Linked DNA regions of Homo sapiens: all the other regions are linked to region 5. Evidence: promoter capture Hi-C in 16 types of primary human blood cells and fetal thymus (Javierre and others, 2016). All regions are on one chromosome and are shown on one strand. Each heading gives the region's core, a stretch centred on a gene start or on the middle of the fragment in contact. The rest is flanking DNA. Distances are from core to core; before and after follow the strand shown.

Region 1 (2,700 bases), core at 62-2,561, 800 kb before region 5:
ACTTCTGTTTTTATTAGAGCCATCTTTTACTTCAGTTTTCCTCCAAGGATAAAACATTGATTGGATTTACCAAAATAGATTATAATTAGAGCTTAATTAATGAGCGAATACCGAGAGATTCTAATAGAAGATCTGATACAGTTTTTGTTTGAATTTGAGTTACCTCCTGTACTTTGAAGACATAATTTTGCATAAGTAATGCATATTTTTCTAAGAAGCAGTCAAATATTGTGTATCTTATATCTGCTGGGAATCATATCTCTGTAGTAATATTGCTCTCAGTAATTTCTTATAGCCACTTTTTTTATTTATAGATCATCTGTTTCTTATAGCCACATTTTTTTATTCATAGATCATCTGTTACGTACTGCAAGTCAGCATTCCGATAGCAGTGGTTTTGCTGAAGATTCTACAGACTGCCTATCCCTTAATCATCTTCAGGTAAAATTTTCTGTTCTAATAGGCACTATGATTAACTTCCTCATTTTAAGGTGGTTTTTGTATTACTATATATTTTAATATTGAGTCTGTATAATCTTTATTTTTCAAGTGACAGAACAAAACTCCTGGCATGTAGATGTTATCTAAGCATTTGACTATAAATTTTAGATTTCATTAATTCTTCTCTCTGAATATGTTTTTAAAAATATCTATCTTCCCCTTAATTTTTGGACCACCAGTAAACAGAGATTATTGTGATCATTAACCTGTTTTGTCTGTTGTTTTTCTTATTTTTTTAACCATCATTATATTTCATTATTTTACAGTAATTGTTTTGCCTATTTAATAACTGACATTAATTGTGGACCTATAGCTTGCTGAGTGTTATACTGATTTTTACACTAGGTTGTGTGAGATAACCCAGAGAACAGGCACATCTTTATCCCCAAGAAGCATATAGTCTATATGTAGAGTACACAGAATGCACAGAAAAAGCATTTGAAACATTTTTTAAGCAAATTCTAAAGAAAATTGGGATGAGAAAACTCCCAAAGAGCCTTTAGGAACATAGCATTTAAGGGGTAAACAGACAAGAGGCATATGTAAGTTCACTGAGAAAGAGTAATTAAGTGAACAGAAACACTGGGAGATGGAGGAGAAACTTTCAGAAGGTATGGAAGAAAAGATAGGAATGTTGACTGGTTTTCAAATATGAATGATAGCTTAAGAGTGAGGGGTCTTTTTGTCCTTTTATAATAACATGAAATGACTTGGGGAAAGTGTTCAGCTAAGGGAAATAACCGTAAGAGAAGAACTGATTCAGAAAAATCCGGGCTGAAACTGGAGAGATACCCTGGTCTTGGAGAGGATATGATCAGGAACCCAGGTTGGAGGGATTCGCTTTGAGTTTCCTTTCAGAATGGAGAGAAGGAGGGAATGATGGGGAGAGATACAAGGAAGTTTTTAGATGTTGGGGAAGAATGTTAGGAAGTGTTTGTCCATTTTCTCTATGAGTCAGTGTGTTGTATTGAAAGGAAAGGGGGAGGTTGTTGGAAAGGGAATTTTAGGAAAACAGTGAAGTTCTGAAATAATCTTTGTGAGAAAGTGAGAGGAAGGAGGGATGTGGTTGCTGCTCAGGAGCAATAAAACAATTTTGAGCAACAGCAGGGCCACAACTGCAGTGGAGACAGTGAAATTATAGAAGCACCATGTTGGTTTGGTATTTTGTTAGTGACTCTTCTTACATATATTCTTCATCTTTCCACCTATTTTCTTTTCACAGGTTCAGGAGTCCTTGCAGGCTATGGGGAGTAGTGCTGATAGTTGTGACAGTGAGACAACAGTTACGTCACTTGGTGAAGACCTTGCCACACCAACAGCACAAGACCAGCCTTATTTTAATGAATCAGAGGAGGAGTCTCTTGTCCCTCTTCAGAAGGGACTAGAGAAGGCAGCAGCAGTTGCAGACAAAAGAAAATCAGGTAGCCAGGATTTCCCTCAGTGCAACACCATTGAGAATACAGGAACTAAACAGTCCACCTGTAGTCCAGGGGATCATATCATTGAAATTACTGAAGTGGAAGAGGATTTGTTTCCAGCAGAGACAGTAGAGCTACTGAGGGAAGCAAGTGCTGAAAGTGATGTGGGTAAAAGCAGTGAAAGTGAATTTACTCAGTATACCACACACCATATTCTGAAATCATTGGCTTCTATTGAAGCTAAATGCAGTGATATGAGCTCTGAAAATACAACTGGGCCTCCCTCTTCCATGGACAGAGTTAATACAGCTTTGCAAAGAGCTCAAATGAAGGTTTGCAGTCTGTCTAATCAAAGGATGGGGCGTAGCCTGCTAAAATCAAAAGATTTGTTAAAACAAAGGTACTTATTTGCAAAAGCTGGCTATCCTCTAAGAAGGTCTCAGTCTTTACCAACCACCTTATTGAGCCCAGTAAGGGTTGTGTCCTCTGTCAATGTTCGATTATCTCCAGGAAAAGAGACCAGATGCAGCCCACCTTCCTTCACCTATAAGTACACACCTGAAGAGGAGCAGGAATTGGAAAAGCGGGTGATGGAACATGATGGTCAGTCTTTAGTTAAATCGACCATTTTCATCTCTCCATCATCTGTGAAGAAAGAAGAAGCCCCCCAGAGTGAGGCGCCGCGGGTGGAGGAATGCCATCATGGAAGGACTCCTACCTGTTCACGGCTTGCTCCACCACCAATGTCTCAGTCTACCTGTTCCCTTCATTCCATCCACTC
Region 2 (2,700 bases), core at 189-2,688, 780 kb before region 5:
TAAGAGCTTGCACAAAGCATAGAAGAGAAAGAAACTTGAAATGGTGATTTTGATGTTTGGAGTTGCTATGAATGATATACCATGAGAAAAACAGGCAGATTTTGAAGTACATTTCAGATTTGAAGTACATTTGAAAAATTCTCAGATTTGAAGTACATTTCTTTCCTCTAAATATATTCAGTTGAATTTCATACATTTAAAAGTACCGAATATTTGCTCAGCTGGCCATCTTCAACCTTTTCAGAGGAACATAAGAATGCAGTAAAGTGTATATAAAAGAATGTAAAGAGAACGTAAGTTTGGGCAGTTTCTGGAGAATTGCTGCATTGCCCATGTTCTTCACCTGTACAAATGGGAGTGTGGTCTTAGGGAAGGAATTAAGCAAAACTGAAGTGTATGTTCTTCTAGAATTTTTCCTCTCCTGGAAAGAAGGAAATTATAGCACTCCTAGGAAGTGGGAAGAGGAAACATCCTATCACCTTTTAATTGAAGCTGAGGGTCTACACTTTTAAGCATCACTTAGAGTTACTTATGAATATTGGAAACATTTAATTAGCACTTATTCTAATTGCATTCTAAATGTATAAAGTTAAAATGTCATAACTAATAGTTCCTCTCCTATACAGTTTCTTCTATGTATTGCTATTGAATGAGGCCTTTTCCTTTTTGTTCTCATTTCCACAACTGATGTTCCATTAGTCATATTGAGTAAATAACAGTTTATATACAGTGTCAGTGTAATAAATAATACTGTCACAAATCATAAGTAATAACTTGCATACAGAATGTCAGTGCTCAGCAGGGAGTTACAAATATATTAAAAGATAATGCATATCAGACAAATATCAGAGTCCATTTTCCTCACAAGGGTCTTTCTGCACACCCAAAGGAGAAAGACTTAAATTTTTGTGAACAATGAGCTTATTTGCTCACTCTATCATGGTAGTATTAGTACCTGTTTCTCAGTTGATAGAGAAGAATGTAAAGGAACTTTGCACAGCGCTTGGCACAGCTCAGTAAGTTAGCTGTTATGGTGATAGCAAAGATGGGTAAAGATAGGTGACAGGTAGATGAGTTTTGGCAAGTCAAAGCATTAAATGGGAAGGACAGAATATGGACTTATAGATCCAGGACTGACCTTTTCAACTTTAATGTGTTCTTTCAAGCAGTTGAACTAGGAACTGGTACCAGACTGCCGATTCTGATATAGCAGGTGAACATTAATTACTGGTTTTAACATTTTCAAGAAATTTTGTTATTTGAAACCAAAAAACTGGTCATGGAATACCATTTAGAACAGTGCTTCTCAAACTTTAATCATACAAATCAAATTACCTGAGAATCTGTAAAAAGGAAAATTCTGATTGAGGTCTGGGTCCTACCTTCTAGGATTGAATTTCTGCATTTCAAGAAGCTCCCAGGTGAGGTTGATGGTGCTGCCATGGACTGCACTTTAGTAGCAAGGACTTAGGATAGTAGGTCTTCACTACCTGTCTGCTAGATGCTTCAAAGGAAGGAAATTGTTAAGTAGGAAAAGGATTTTAATCTCCAAGGGTACGTCATCTTACAGGCCCCTTCAAGAAACTTTTCATTATAGCCAAAGTTCAAAATGAAGAACAAATGTAAGCAAAGCACATAGAAAGGAGACCTCAGGAGGGCCCACCCAAGGCATTGTGGAATTGTGCAATGGCCAACGAATGATCACAGTAAAAGAAAAAAAATTGCTGATTGCTGTTGATGGCAATGAATAGTAAGTCCTTATATTGTGTAGATTGGATGTTGAGAAAATGCAAAGACCATCTGAGTGCTTCTAGAATCAACCAGTCAAGAACCAGAATGAGACCCAAAAAAGAATTAGTCTAGAGATGCTGCAGAAAGAGATCGGATCTGGGATATGGAATTTATTTATAGCCGTTGGAGTTTGAAGGAGTTTATCATTCCTTTCAGAGAGATTCATGATATTTCACCTCTGCAGAGCACACTAATTTCTTATTCGTGTTCCTGAGTTAATTGTTTAGTAAATCCATGTACTGATGATTCATGGTTTTGCTTCGGTACATCTCAAATAATTTTATTATTTCAGCAGTCCAAGATAAAAAAGAAAAAGGCCCCTGAAGTATAAAGCAGACATCTGAGGAGTAGATTCACAAATATCTGTTAGAACTCTGTGCCTGGGCAGAGACTGCTCTTGATAGAATCAGCAGGGTCATCAGTTAAATCTCAGTTGTGAATGTCTTGATTTATGTTTAGTCAAAAAGGACTTGCATTGTTATTAACCTATTGATATCTGTAAAATATAGACATTTCAATAAGATGATGTGTTTACCCAATCTTCTTTAGTCTGTGATGACAAATGGGAATGCATTAATGATGACAGATATATTTTTCTTTTTCCATCATGTGTTGAAAGATATGTTCCTCTCCTAAATCTCATGCATTAATATTGGGGCTCCCCGAGAGTTATTCATACATCTTCATGACAGTCCTAATACGTCAATTCTAAGTGCTTTGCTCTTCTCTTGCTCTCTCTGTTGAGGGACCCAGTGCTCCCCTGCCCTTCTGCTGGGGTCCTCAATCGGCCAAGGTTATGATGATAACACACTGTATGGAAGTGGAGGGAGTGCTTCTCTTGCTGAATTACCCCTTACTACCTTAGCAGCATAGCAGCATTGCTTATAACCCAGCTTTCTCATATGAATC
Region 3 (2,700 bases), core at 105-2,604, 540 kb before region 5:
AGAGAGAGGCCAGAGGTCAAGCAAGAACCTGATGCTCATCTGAAATCCATTAATACCACAACATTAGTCCCCAGGGACTGCAATGCCATCTAAAGAAGGAGGAAAGAGAGGTCAGAAACCCTGGATTGACCAGGCTTACTCTGATTCAGTCAAAACACTTAAATGATAAGCTTATATTTTCTTCAAACAGGTAGCATGAGGACATAGCTAGAAACTATGTTTGGTCACAGAGAAATAATGAAGGGTATATTATTTATGCACCTGATTTGTGGCCTAAGGATATGATATGTACAGACTTAAACAAAACACTAATATTTAAAAAGTATCTGCACAGTATTTGGATTTTTTTTTCTGTCTCATGTTTTCTGCAAGATCCAGAAAACTCCTGCTGAAACAGAACAACATTTGTGTTGTCATGGATAAATTTTAAAAAGCATCTTGTTGAGTGGAAAGCAATTCACAAAGGAATGTATATGGCACAGTTCCATTTATATTGTTTTAAAACAGACAAAACTAAATTATACATTGTTTAAAATTATACAAAGAGGGATAACAGCTTAAAAAAAGAATGATTATCACAAAATTCAAAACAATAATTAGCTCATGGGTGGGAGAGAAGGAAATAAATGATTAGAGAAGGCATAGAGAGAATTCCAAGGGCATGGCAAGATCATATATTTCATATTTTGGGGCCTAGATGGTAGGTTTTCTACCTCTCTCCTTCCTTCTTCCCTTCTCCTCCTTTCTCTACCCCCTCCTCTCTCGTCCTCCCTCTTGCGCTCTGTCTCTCTCTTTCTTCCCTGCCTACTGCAGATAATCATTTGAATTTCTACTTTGTGCCAGTCTCTGTTCAAAGAGCTTGGGATACATCAGCAATGGAAACAAACATCTTTATTTTAATGAACCTTATTTTTAAGAGGGTGAAGTAGATAATAAAAATGAAGCATAATAGGTCAACAGTCTCTCCCTGCTCTAGGACTAGGGAGATGTTTTTGCGATATCTGTGAAATAGAGCTTAAGGGTTAATATGATGATGAGCAAACATCTGGAATTCTCTTCAAAGCCCTGATGCTTAATTAATATTCCAAAGCTCTAAACATCATATGACCTGCTTATTTTAATCTCAATGCAATTGTAATAAAGAAACTTTCATCTTCAGCGTATAAGACTAGAAGTGGTAGGTACTGGAAAATTAAAATGGCAATATCTGATACTCAGTGACTTTAAAATTGATCACTATGTTAGTAGATGCATTTTAATAGCTTATCATTGTTTCATTTTTATGCAATATTTCATGTATATAAATGAATTATAGATACATATATAAAGCACATGTTAGACATAATCATAATCATAATGATAAAATGAACTTTTGTGTGTCTAGTGCCCAATCTAGGAAGTAAAATTCTACTTATTTCTAATAATATGAAATTTTAGGTTGAAAAATTCTTATCTTTAAGAATGTTGAATATTGAATATTGTATATTGCCCTCACTCTCTTCTAGCTTGTAGGGTTTCTGCTGAGAGATCTGCTGTTAGTCTGATGAGCTTCCCTTTGTAGGTGACCTGACCTTTTTCTCTGGCTGCCCTTAAACATTTTTTCCTTTGTTTCAACCTTGGAGAATCTGAAAATTACGTGTCCTGGCGTTGATCTTCTCATGGAGTATCTTAGTGGTGTTCTATGTATTTCCTGAATTTGAATGTTGGCCTGTCTTGCTAGGTTGGGGAAGTTCTCCTGGATAATATCCTGAAGTGTGTTTTCCAACTTGATTCCATTCTCCCAGTCTCTTTCAGGTACTCCAATCAATCGTAGCTTCAGTATCTTCACATAGTCCCACATTTCTCGGAGGTTTTGTTCATTCCTTTTCATTATTTTTTCTCTAATCTTGTCTGCATGCCTTATTTCAGCAAGATGGTCTTCAAATTCTGATATCCTTTCTTCTGCTTGATTTATTCAGCTATTGATACTTGTGTATGCTTCATGAAGTTCTTGTGCTGTGTTTTTCATCTCCATCAGGTCATTTATGTTCCTCTCTAAACTGGTTATTCTAGTTAGCAGCTCCTGTAACCTTTTATCAATGTTCTTAGCTTCTTTGCATTGGGTTAGAACATGCTCCTTTAGCTCAGCAGAGTTTGTTATTACCCACCTTCTGAAGCCTACTTCTGTCAATTAATCTATCTCATTCTCTGTCCAGTCCTGTGTCCTTGCTGGAGAAGTGTTACAATCATTTGGAGGAGAAGAGGCATTCTGGCTTTTGGAATTTTCAGCGTTTTTGCACTGTTTCTTCCTCATCTTCATGGATTTATCTACCTTTGATCTTTGAAGCTGATGACCTTTGGATGAGGTTTTGTAGGAGGTCTTTTTTGTTGATGCTTTTGTTGTTGTTGCTTTCTGTTTGTTACTTTTTCTTCTAACAGTTAGACCCATCTTCTGCAGGTCTGCTGCAGTTTGATGGGGGTCCACTCCAGACCCTGTCACCTAGGTTTCACCAATGGAGTTTGCAGAACATCAAAGATTGCTGTCTGCTCCTTCCTCTGGAAGCTTCAGCTCTCCTGTATGAGGTGTCTATTGATCCCTGTTGGGAGGTCTCTCCCAGTCAAGAGGCGCAAAGTCAGGAACCTGCTTGAGGAGGCAGTCTGTCCCTTAGCAGAACTGGTGCACTCTGCTGGGAGAGTCCCCCTTGTTAGGGTCAGCTGCTC
Region 4 (2,700 bases), core at 174-2,673, 550 kb before region 5:
AAAAAAAATGGAATTATCTAAATGGGGATGGAGATGTGTGGGATGATCCTGATGGGGGGCATTGAGCTCGTAAATTCTGAAGAGTATTTTTTGCCAAGGTGACTGTCCTCTCCACCTCCAGAGGCAGTGGCACCCCCACCCACAATGGTATCTCTTTTCCACCCCTCTCTGGGATTAACTGCATTGTCAGAAAAAAGAGTAATGGTCTCCCCTGCAGCAGTTGCCGGGCAAGACAATGCTGATTCTCCTTGAGACCCACCCCTACCACCCCTCTTTGCTTCTAAACCTGTAACTAGACTGAAATCCCAGAGGGGAGGTTCAGAGTGTGACCCACAAGGAGGTGCGCTATACTCCAAAAGAACTACTTGAGTGTTCTAACTGATACCAGCAGAAATCCAAGAAACATGCGTGGGAATGGATATTAAGGATGTGGGATTATGGTGGAAGAAACAAAGAATAAGGTCAAATTTATTGATATGAGCCCACTAAGCATATATTCTGCATTTAATATTGAAGCTCAAGGAGTGAAAACAGGCACTATAAGTTTATTTGGCTGACTGGCTGAAACATGGATCAAAAAATAGACCACCCCAGGAGTGAGCTGGGGATGCCTGATCTACCTTGGTTTCATTTAGAGGAGGGAATTAAAAGGCTTAAGGAAATTGGAATGATACAGTGGACTTGTCACATAAAACCTACTCCCCCACACTGGGAGGGTCCAGAAGATACACCTTTCACTAATATTTTAAGAAATAAATTTGTGAGGGGAGCACCAGCATCCTTAAAGATCTCTGTGATTGCTCTTCTCTGCATTCCAGAACTTATAGTGGGAACTACAATCACTCAATTAGAAAACAAATGCAATGGGAATAATTGGATCCCTGGGTGGCAGGAGCCAAGCGATGGCACTCAAATGTCAAAGGCAAGGTGGGCGTAGTTACTGGAATTAACAGCAGAGGCAAAGCAACAATCAGAATAATCTGACTTGTGTAGACCTCCAGCACTGGCTAATTAATCATGATGTTCCTAGAAGTAAAATAGATGGGAAGCTTACTATGCTCTTACTTGAACTGTAGAAGCACAAAATTTCTGGGTCAAGTGAAGAAAAGTCTAACTCAAATCTTGACAACAGGGAATCACTGCCCCTCAATCAATTTCTAGACTTGAGCCAGTTTACAGACCCAGAGCCCTTTAAGTGAAGGGGAGACCAGGTCCTGTTGAGGAAAGACTCTGGTGCACTACATAAAATTTATACTGTTAATCTTTCTCTTATACTTCCCCAAAGGGACCTCTGGCCTTGTATCAGGGAAAGGAAAATAATCAGGCTTTTCAGGGATGACTGGCCACTGGCTCTGAACTGACATTGATCCCAAGAGACTGAAAACATCACTGTGGCCCTCCAGTTATAGTAGAGGTTAGGGGAGTCAGGTGATTCATGGAGCTTTAGCTCAGGTCCAGTGGTCCCCGAACCCATAAGGTAGTTATTTCCCCAGTTCAAAATGCATTATTGAAATAGACAGACTTAGCAGCAGACAGAATCCCCACATTGGTTCCCTAACTAGTGGGTGAAGATTATTATGATAGGAAAGGCCAAATGGAAGCTATTAGAACTGCCTGTACCTAAGACAATAGTAAATAGAAAACAAGGTAGCATTCTTGAAGGGTTTGCAGAGACTAGTGCAACCATCAAGGACTTGACAGATGCAGAGGTGGTGATTTTCACCATGTCCCCATTCAACTCTCCTATTTGGCTTGTACAGAAGACAGATGGATCCTGGAGAATGGCAATGGCTTATTGTAAGCTTACCCAAGTCGTGACTCTAATTGCAACTGCTACACCCAATGTAGTTTCATTCTTGAACACATTAACACATCTGGTGCCTGTTATGCAGCTATTGTTCTGGTAAATGCTTTTTCTCCATACCTGTCCATAAGGCCCACCAGAAGCAATTTGATTCACTGGCAAGGCCAGCAATATACCTTTGCCCTCCTACCTCAGGGGTATACCAACCCTTCAGCCCTATGTCATAATCTATTTTGCAGGGATCCTGATTGCTTTTCCCTTCCACAAGCTATCACCCTGTTCACTTCATTGATGATATTATGTTAATTGGACCTAGTGAGCAAGAAGTAACAACCACTGTGGATTTATTGGCAAGACATGTGCATTGTCAGGGGGCAGGAAATAAATCCAACTAAACTTCAGGGGCCTTCCATTTCAGTGAAATTTCTAAGGGTCCAGTGGTGCAGGGCCTGTGGAGATAACCCTTCTAAAGTAAAGAGTTGTTGCATCTGGCCCCTCCTATAACTGAGAAAGAAGCACAATTCCTAGTGGACCTATTTGGATTATAAAGGCGACATATTTGGGTGTGTTACCCTAGCCCATTTACTGGGTGACACAAAAAACTGCTAGTTATGAGTGGGGCACAGAACAGGAAAAGACTGCAACAAGTCCAGGCTGCTATGCAAGCTGCTCTGCCACTTGGGCCATGTGACCCAAGAGCTCCAATGGTCCTTGCTGTATCAGTGGCAGATAGGTATGCTGTTTGGAGTCTTTGGCAGGGCCCTACAGGTGAATCACAATAGAGGTCTTTAGGATTCTGGAATGAGGCCTGGCATCATCTGCAGATAACTACTCTCCTTTTGCGAGGTAGCTCTTGACCTGCTACTAGGCCTTAGTAAAAGCTGAATGCTTGGCCT
Region 5 (2,700 bases), core at 127-2,626:
CCTATTTGTCTAACATTCTCCTGTTCTTTCTCCAGTTTTGTATGCTTTGCATCCTCTCTCCAATAGCTGCCAGGATGATCTAAAATACAATCTCAGTCTCTTTTTTAAAAGCTTCCTCATCACCTAAGAGATAGAAATCTATGTCTTCATCTTGGTATAAAAACCTGTCTGTGATCTGGTCCCTGCTTCATCTTCCAGTTTTCTGTTTGTTTTTCAATTTACTTTAAGATTTTGTTACAGTGTGTAACAAAATGGTTACACACTGTGTCATAATGCTTAACATCATAGTCTCTGAAGCCAGGTTGCTTAGATGTGAATCCTAGCTCTCAAATATTTGCCTCAGTTTCCTCAAATGGGAAATAGATATAGGAGCCACTATCTTGTAAGATTATTTGGAGGACTAAATGAGTTACTACATGTGTGCTTAGACCAGTTCCTGAGACATATTAACTACTATTACATCAGGCTGCTTCTAATGTTTGCCTTTGTTCATTCTACTTCCTCTTCTTTCCTACCAAGTATTAGCTTAGCCATAGATCCTGTGTAGTTTTCCAAGTTTTTAGAAGCTGACACTTGATTTACTCCCCGAAACTGTTACCAATCACAACTTATTTCATGTTAGGGTTGATGTTATAAGCAGGTATCCTCTAGGCTCGGTTTTCTCTTTTAAATATAGAAAATGTAGTAAATATAACCACTTCAATTGTTATATTGCTGTGGGACAAAATGCAGTTCCTGTACCATAGCAGTAGGAGATCAAGGTAAGAGAGAACAACGATAACTCCCCAGTTTCTAGCTTGTATGACTCAGAATCCAGAAAATATTGTAGAAGTCTCAAATGCTTGTTGATACACACGCTTACACAAAATTGTAAATGTTTTAATTTCCTTCAAGTTTCCTACTGCCTCTTCAGTCCGCTAGCCTGATACTGCAATCAGTGTCGCTTCAGGCAACTTCTCCTTTCTCCGCCAAATTTCGCCTTTCGGTCTCACCCACCCATCACCCAGACAAATCCTCCAAAGCTCCGTCTTCCCTTTAAAAGACTCTCAGGGAACTCAACCCCAAAACCCACCCTCTGGGTTTCCCCGTCACCCTGGCAACGGAAGCAGGAAGAGGCGGGCTTCGCCATCCACCCTCCCCGCCCGCGGCAGGCGCCGGCCGCATTGGTGAGGGGGCGCGGGCTGCTTGGCCAGGGCAGTTCCCTCAGCTCCGGGTTGGAGCCGGAGCCGGAGCCGGATCCCGCGCACACCGCCACGTCAACCTAAACCTACACCGCCCTCTCCACCCCACCGCCGCAGCGCCCGCTGGGCCCGCAGCGGGTCTCCCCAGGCAGCGTCCTCCACGCCTTTCCCACAATGCTCCGCGCCAGGCCCCGCCCCGGCTCGCCGTGGAGACCGGCGCGTGAGGAACCTACCGGTACCGGCCGCGCGCTGGTAGTCGCCGGTGTGGCTGCACCTCACCAATCCCGTGCGCCGCGGCTGGGCCGTCGGAGAGTGCGTGTGCTTCTCTCCTGCACGCGGTGCTTGGGCTCGGCCAGGCGGGGTCCGCCGCCAGGGTTTGAGGATGGGGGAGTAGCTACAGGAAGCGACCCCGCGATGGCAAGGTGGGCATGGGCCCGGGGCTAGGGCTTTGCTGGAGCCGGTGGTGGCCTGGGCCCTCCGGTCAGGGAGGGGCGGAATGGCTGAGCGCCTGAACCTCCCTTCCTGTGCGCTCTTAAGACCTGGATATTGTGTTCTCGCTCCCCACCTTCCTCCTCCCTGTTATTCACACCACCCTTCCTCTGCCCAGCGATTCCCTCTCAGTTACTTACACTTTCTCCCTAAGTCCGACCTGAGACTTCAGACACCAGCAACACTTAACAGCCCTGTTCCCCCGTGTCTTCATCTTTACCCCTCTCCCCTCTCCCACTCTGCAGTGATGGCAATGCGAAAGCTTGCGCCTTGCATTTACCTGGCGCTTCCACCTGCCCGGTAGCTCGGGCCACGGGCAGTTCGGCCACACCCACGCTGAGAACAACCCCTGGGCGAGAAACATCTTATCCCAAAGTGTTGATTGAGACTATGCCCTCTCTTTTTCTGATGGTTGTTTTCTTGTTTGGATACTTGTTAATCTCTACATCATTATATTTTTCAAAGGTATATTTTTGTGGAATGAAAAGGAAGTATTAGAAATGAGCTGAAGACCATTCACAGGTAAAGAGAAAAATTTTTAAATATACATTTAGGATTAAATGAAAAACAGAAATGAGGTGCGAGGAGCGTTAGATTTTTCAAAGCATTACGATCTCTTTGGAACTAAAATATAGTGGTTGAAATGTGATATGATGAAGTAATGATTGTTTTTGCCCTGCAGAGAGTATGTCTAAATAACCGATTCCCTTCTCTTTTTGTGTTTTGTTTCTACTTACACCAAACATGAACTTTGCAATAAAATTACACTGGTAACTTACAATTGTTTTTCTACTATTTTTAAAAAATGGCCTCTACTTAAATTCAGTATAAGCACCTTCTGAGGAAACTCCGGGAAGAAGATCGACTGCTGTGTAGATTGTCTATTATAACAATATATTTCACTGTCATTTCTGGTAGGGTTATATGAGAAGTAAAAAACCCTATGTTTCCTTCTAGTCCCTCCCAAGGACATTTCCTACAAGTGAATTCTGCTGAAAATGAAAATTAGACAGCTTTAGGAGGTAAAGAA

Evidence for each region. Contacts are between HindIII fragments. The CHiCAGO score rates a contact against its expected background, and 5 or more counts as called.
Region 1: a contact is called between a fragment that was not itself captured here and the fragment with the promoter of DNAJC10 in region 5, in 1 of 17 cell types (M1 macrophages). The highest score is 6.5, in M1 macrophages.
Region 2: a fragment that was not itself captured here is called in contact with the fragment with the promoter of DNAJC10 in region 5 in 1 of 17 cell types (monocytes); the score reaches 9.0 in monocytes.
Region 3: a fragment that was not itself captured here is called in contact with the fragment with the promoter of DNAJC10 in region 5 in 3 of 17 cell types (M2 macrophages, M0 macrophages and endothelial precursors); the score reaches 6.4 in M2 macrophages.
Region 4: a contact is called between a fragment that was not itself captured here and the fragment with the promoter of DNAJC10 in region 5, in 1 of 17 cell types (endothelial precursors). The highest score is 5.0, in endothelial precursors.

Annotation. Positions count from the first base shown.
Region 1 is chr2:181,913,493-181,916,192 of GRCh38, forward strand. It overlaps ITPRID2 (ITPR interacting domain containing 2), which reads left to right. Exons shown (of 18, transcript NM_001130445.3): 10 at 353-441; 11 at 1,724-2,700. Among named protein-coding and RNA genes, the nearest start is that of ITPRID2, 23 kb to the left of the region's middle. The HindIII fragment of the contact is 4,193 bases long and covers 1-2,700 here.
Region 2 is chr2:181,932,291-181,934,990 of GRCh38, forward strand. No RefSeq gene overlaps it. Among named protein-coding and RNA genes, the nearest start is that of ITPRID2, 42 kb to the left of the region's middle. RefSeq lists silencers at 1-38, 78-278. The HindIII fragment of the contact is 8,454 bases long and covers 1-2,700 here.
Region 3 is chr2:182,178,922-182,181,621 of GRCh38, forward strand. The region is part of intron 13 of PDE1A (phosphodiesterase 1A); the gene reads right to left. Among named protein-coding and RNA genes, the nearest start is that of PPP1R1C, 190 kb to the left of the region's middle. The HindIII fragment of the contact is 2,372 bases long and covers 169-2,540 here.
Region 4 is chr2:182,161,354-182,164,053 of GRCh38, forward strand. All of the region lies in intron 13 of PDE1A (phosphodiesterase 1A), which reads right to left. Among named protein-coding and RNA genes, the nearest start is that of PPP1R1C, 180 kb to the left of the region's middle. The HindIII fragment of the contact is 753 bases long and covers 1,048-1,800 here.
Region 5 is chr2:182,714,881-182,717,580 of GRCh38, forward strand. It overlaps DNAJC10 (DnaJ heat shock protein family (Hsp40) member C10), which reads left to right and starts at 1,377. Exons shown (of 24, transcript NM_018981.4): 1 at 1,377-1,603; 2 at 2,136-2,192. It also overlaps a transcript of PDE1A not described here. RefSeq lists enhancers at 860-1,009, 1,030-1,099, 1,444-2,048 and a silencer at 1,610-1,769. The HindIII fragment of the contact is 1,821 bases long and covers 110-1,930 here.